Linked DNA regions of Homo sapiens: region 2 is linked to region 1. Evidence: promoter capture Hi-C in 16 types of primary human blood cells and fetal thymus (Javierre and others, 2016). All regions are on one chromosome and are shown on one strand. The core of a region is centred on a gene start or on the middle of the fragment in contact, and the rest is flanking DNA. Distances in the headings are between cores, read along the strand shown. Region 1 holds the start of FANK1 (fibronectin type III and ankyrin repeat domains 1). Region 2 overlaps C10orf90 (chromosome 10 open reading frame 90).

Region 1 (2,735 bases), core at 7-2,506:
CACAGCCTGCCATCAGTTTGACATAAAACAAAAATTTTAGCGTTCTTGTATGCTAAATTTCTTTTACTAGGTTAAAAAAATGTAGAATCCAAAGAGCTGTAAATGCAAATGACAAATACTGTACAAAATCTATCAAGCAACTATAAGTCACAACTTGCAAGCTTTCTCCTCAGCAAATGAGTTAAAAGGAAAAGTATTTGAAACTTTCTTGGTGGAAAACGAATGACCTTTAAAAATGCCAACATTTTCCCCAGAGAATAGATTTGGTCTGAGTTCTTCATTTCTGAAATTGTACAAGATAAGACGACTTGGTTTGAGAGTCAAACTGCATCCTTCTATAAAGGTTTTAGATAAATTTTAAGTCTCCATACAAAACACTCCCCTTATTTTGAGAACAAAAGGAACAATAAGACAGCTTAGGCGGGGCAGAGAAAGAAAGGCCTTGAAACAAAGTCCCTGGAAAGGTAAAAACAACAACAAAAATAGTAAGTTAGAGCTCGTGTTTAGATCTGATAACTCAAAACTGCACAACTTTTGCCATACATCGAAAGCAACATGGGAAAACAGAAAAAGAGATTACAAACATTTTTTGAGTGTCCTAACTTGTAGAACCCCTAAGAATGAATCAAATACACTTGGACAAAGCTCTTCTTTTCTCTCTCTCTCCTTCAAGTCGCAGACTAGGGGTGTGGGGCGGGGGGCGGGGAGTAAGACGGGGTCTCTAATAAATACAAGACCCAGCCTCGGACGTGTTTAATTGCTGACATTTTAGAAGAAAAATGGGCTACTTACAATTAATGAACCAAACTACCAAACTAAAATCATGAGTAGGAGGAGGAGTAAATGGAACCGTCCGGGCGAAGTTTCAGGAAGACGCACGCTGGGGTCGCTGCGCCCTTCCCCACCCATACCTCGGGGCTCTCCAGTCGCTCCCAGCCCCCAGCGCGGACTCTAGGGCGCCGGCGGCCCAACCATACAGACTTGGCAGGATGTAGCCCCCTTCTCCCCTCTCCAGGAGAGAAAAGCGCGAGGAGACGCAAACCGTATTTCCGTGTCCGAGCGTTGAAACCTGCGGAGTCGCGCGCGGGGCGCCCACACTCGTTCCCGGGGAGCCCCAGCCCGGTCGCCCGCCCCGGTCCCAGCTCCAGCCCGGGCCTCCCTTACTCTGGGGCTCCATGGTCGGCTGCTCCCCGGCCTCCGCGGGCGAACCCCCGGACTCCTAACGCCTCTCAGCCAGGGCCGGCGTCGCTACGGTTGCCCTGACAACCCGGAGGCGAAGTGGGCAGAACTAAAGGGACGGCGAGCGGGAGGGACCAAAAGCCGCAGGAAGTGAGGGAGCGCGTGAGGACCCGCGCGTCGCCGGGGACACTGAGCGAGGGTAGCGGCCAGGTCACCGGCTGAGGACACTGCTCCTGAAGCCCGGTCAGGCGGTCGCGCCCTCCCTGGCGGCCCCCGCGGCCCCGCAGGACCTGTGCCCCGACGTCGCCGACCCGCGGTCCCCGCTGTCGCCGACCCGCGGCGTCCGTCGGGCGAGTGGGCCTGCCCGCGGGTAAGGCGCCGGCCCTGGGCCGCCCTCCCGGGAATCGGGAGCCGCCGCTGCAGGTAACAGCGGGGCCCCGGCGGCGGAAGGGGTCGGGGGTCGGCGCAGGGGCGGGCGCGCCCCGAGCCGGGTGGGCGGCCCCGGCGCACCTGTTGTAGCCGCCTGGGGGTCCCCTGCCCGCAGTTGGCCGTGGACGTTCCCCGCCCCGACTCCGAAACGCCGAGGGCGGCCTCCGCGCCTCCTGCTCCGGGAGCCGCGCCTCAGCGGGAGGACGGAGCCCTGCGGGCAGCCCTCGCACCAGGGGCTCCCTCCGAGCCCGGGCATGGGCCGGGCCTGGGGCGGTCCCTCGAGCCCCCCTGACGGGAAGCGTGGAGCAATGCGAGCCGCCGCCGTCGTCGCTGTCGTCCCCAGTGAGCCTGGCGCGTCTCCTGAATCGCGAGAGCCAGGAGCACGGTTTTGCCCGGCTTTGCCCCGTCATCCCCGTGTCCCATTTCAGGCAGGGGGCCCGGGTTGGATCTTTCTCGCTGGCTTCGTTTTTTGTGTGTTGATTTGTTTCAGTCCTTCGCGTTTCCGGTTGAGTTACGGAATCTGCCCACACGTTTTGTGGCCAAACTTTGTAGGGCTGTGAAACAATGTAACATTATCCCACACAATAGTCTTTCATACTGGTTTTAAAACACAGTGATTCAGGGTTTGCTTTAAGGAAGCTTTGAGGATCACAAGAGATTATTATCTGGTAGGTTGTAAAAATTCAAACAACCAGGAGAGTATCATAGGTTCCGGAACACCAGAAGGAGGAAAGAAAAATGGAGACGAGAGAAAAAGGATAAGCAAGAAAGTGCAGGGGCATTAAGGGTGTGGGGGGCTGCAGGATTGATTTGGTATTCAGGTCTGGAGATTATGGCCCCTCTATTAATTCCAACCGCTGCTCCAGACAGTACTTGAGGGAAATGGAAGGAAGAGCCGTTTTGGGGGTCATGGAAGTGATTACTAATCTTGCCAGTAGAAAGATTTCCACTCCATGGATGACAAGGACACTAAGGAGAATTACTTTCCTCTTAGGGAATCATTGAGAGGTTAATTGAACTTGAGAAGCATATATTCTGTGATGGAAACTGACATTTATTATATTCTTCCAAATTAGGTTTTCCCCCTCTCAGACTATATGGGGACTTTTTCAGATTAATTGTCAAAA
Region 2 (2,742 bases), core at 196-2,695, 600 kb before region 1:
CCGTCACCCAAGTAGTGTATATTGCACCTAGTGTGTGTGTGTGTTGTGTGTGTGTGGTGTGTGTGTGTGTGGTGTGTGTGTGGTTGTGTGGTGTGTGTGTGTGGTGTGTGTGTGCGTGTGTGTGGTGTGGGTGTGTGGTTGTGTGGTGTGTGTGTATGGTGTGTGTGTGTGGTGTGTGTGTATGCGTGTGTGGTGTGTGTGTGTGGTGTATATGTGGTGTGTGTGTGTGTGTTTATCCCTAGGCCCACCTCTCACCCTCCCCTTTCTGAGTCTCTGAAGTCCATCATATCACTCTGTATGCCTTTGCGTACTCATAGCTTAGCTCCCACTTATGAGAACATACGGTTTTTGGCTTTCCACTGCTATGTTACTTCACTTAGAATCATAGCCTCCAGCTTCAACCAAGTTGCTGCAAAAGACATGATTTCATTCCTTCTAATGGCTTAGTAGTAGTCCATGGTGTATATATAGACCACATTTGGAAGAACTTTTTGTGGAGTTGCTGATCTATTATTTCTAGCTCAGTGAATGTGGAGGAGTGATACTCTCTGAACTCCTCATCTGGGTAACTAGAGCAGGGGGTAGATTGGGTGTTTTCGAGGTCCCATCAAGCTTAAAAAATTTCAGCTCTATTTGCCCAAGGTGGACTCTGTAAAGAAAAGAGGCTCCGTGGGATTCTGGACCCCTCAGTTGCAAAGTCCAAAGCCACAGAGCCCTGGGGTGTGCTGTGGGGCACTTGCCTCGGATGCCTACAAATGCACACCTTCACCTACACGTGCACCCCTGGCTGTGTGCTCCCTCACTCAGAAATAATTTCCAGTGGACTCTATTTCTTCTCAGGTGACAAGAAAGCACATCTGTCCATGCTGTAGAATTCTGGCCTGAAATTTACCAGCACAGCTCATTGACTCTAATGACCACGGGCTGTCCTTGCACAGCCTGCACAACGTGTGGAGGGTGAGCTTGCTGACCTTCAGATTCCACAAAACCTTTAGCCTTAATGCAAGAGCTTTCAGACTGCAGCAGTGCTCATTAAAACTCAGAGGAACTGTTTATATTTTCCTGTCTGAAACTGGAATCCTATCTGAGACATTCTTGACAGCCTCCTGTGGTTACACATGCTATTAGCAGTCTTCTTACTTCATAGTTACTGAATCTGATTCTTTGTATCTGAAGGATTCCAAAATACCTCATGAGCAGGATCTTCTGTTGGCTGGCTTACTGACATTCAGCTGCTTGGTGGGTACAGCCTGGGCAATTCTACAAACAGAGGCAAAGCAATTTTAGTTCTAGTCATTAGGTCGTTGGACAGAAAGTTCTACAAATTGTATTCATGAATGAGCCTCCAGGATATGCACCCAAAAGAGAAGATGAGGAAAAATGAGACACAAGCACATCATGCAATTCAAATAGCTGTTTCTACTGAGACATAGCATTCCAATAGACGCGTGAGCACCTGCTCTCATCTCAGGCTGAATGTTAAGAAATTGGTTCTCTCTTTGCTCATCTCCTCAGTCCCTGTATGTTTTGTCTTTACATCTCTACTACTGGTAAGCATTCAGATAGCACCAAGTAGGTGGGCATTGGGCAAATCTTCGAATCTATCATAAAAAATTTAATCCCCATTCTTGTCATCATCACCATCATCATCGTCATCATCATCATCTTATTCATAACCACAACATATGTTCTAGAAGTCCTAGGCACCAGGCCCTGGGCTGCATCCATTATTTTGAATCATTCAACCATCTGTAAAGAGTATCATTATCTTTATTTTTCACACAACACAAATGAGGCTTGAAGATTAAATGATTTGCCCAAGTCCACGTGGCCAATTGGTGCTAGAGCTGTGTACTTGTCTCCTGCTGTTCCCTTCTCAGTGACAGCCCCAGGCAGGGCAATTAAGATGGTGGTGACTCAACGGCAGGCCCCACCTCCTCTGCCACTACCAAAGGTGGTATCTGAAGGCTGCTTATGAACATCTGGAGTAATACTGGTATTTGGTTGCCAGTTACCCCGGTAGACTATTAGGAGAGTGAACTGCAAGTTAATTTATGAAAAAATGTAATAAGCCATATCATTTTATGCGATTAAAATGTATTGGCTCAGAAATCCTCCTCAGCCTGAAATCCAGTTCTTTGTGGTGGTCTGTGAAATATACAGTGTTGATCCAAATGGTTCCCACCTCACCGGATGTGCATGCCTGACTCACTATTGACTTAGACACATTTCTTACTGCCAATTTTATTGTGCATCTGTGGCTTAAATCTGAAGCTTTTTACCATTTCTGAGATATCCAAGTAGAGGGAGCAAAATCTTCTGATGATGGTAGATGCTATTGAAGAGGAGACTAGTGAATACGCTGTCCACATCTATTTGCGTTCGCGTTCTATGGTGGGCCCATGTTGCAACTCCCTCAGTCAGTTCACAGGCTTTGGTGGCATTGGTCTGAGATGTCCTCGGTGGAGTTTAGCATCACTAGTGAATAAAGATGTGGATGACTGGAAGGCAGAAGTCCTTGCCAGGTCTCCAAATGAGCACTGTGCCTACTCACACTTAGATGGTATGGTCTGCCACATTAATAGCGAGTGAGGCTTATCTCACTTACGCCACTCAAGGGCAGATAACAAACCATGTACACACAAGCCAAGCCTACCTGTAGGGGAGAAGCCTGCATTAGACTCCCACTCTCATCCCATGAGGACTTTTTTTACTAGAGGGACCAGAAGATATTTTACAAAT

What was found. Contacts are between HindIII fragments. The CHiCAGO score rates a contact against its expected background, and 5 or more counts as called.
Region 2: a contact is called between a fragment that was not itself captured here and the fragment with the promoter of FANK1 in region 1, in 1 of 17 cell types (M1 macrophages). The highest score is 5.3, in M1 macrophages.

Annotation. Positions count from the first base shown.
Region 1 is chr10:125,895,085-125,897,819 of GRCh38, reverse strand. It overlaps FANK1 (fibronectin type III and ankyrin repeat domains 1), which reads right to left and starts at 1,256. Exons shown (of 11, transcript NM_145235.5): 1 at 1,165-1,256. The coding sequence starts at 1,177. It also overlaps a transcript of DHX32 not described here. RefSeq lists silencers at 686-980, 1,072-1,211, 1,372-1,451, 1,672-1,751. The HindIII fragment of the contact is 2,086 bases long and covers 164-2,249 here.
Region 2 is chr10:126,499,433-126,502,174 of GRCh38, reverse strand. All of the region lies in intron 4 of C10orf90 (chromosome 10 open reading frame 90), which reads left to right. LOC105378549 (a long non-coding RNA gene) reads right to left here. Exons shown (of 3, transcript XR_001747637.3): 2 at 1,190-1,260. Among named protein-coding and RNA genes, the nearest start is that of LINC00601, 79 kb to the right of the region's middle. The HindIII fragment of the contact is 1,662 bases long and covers 615-2,276 here.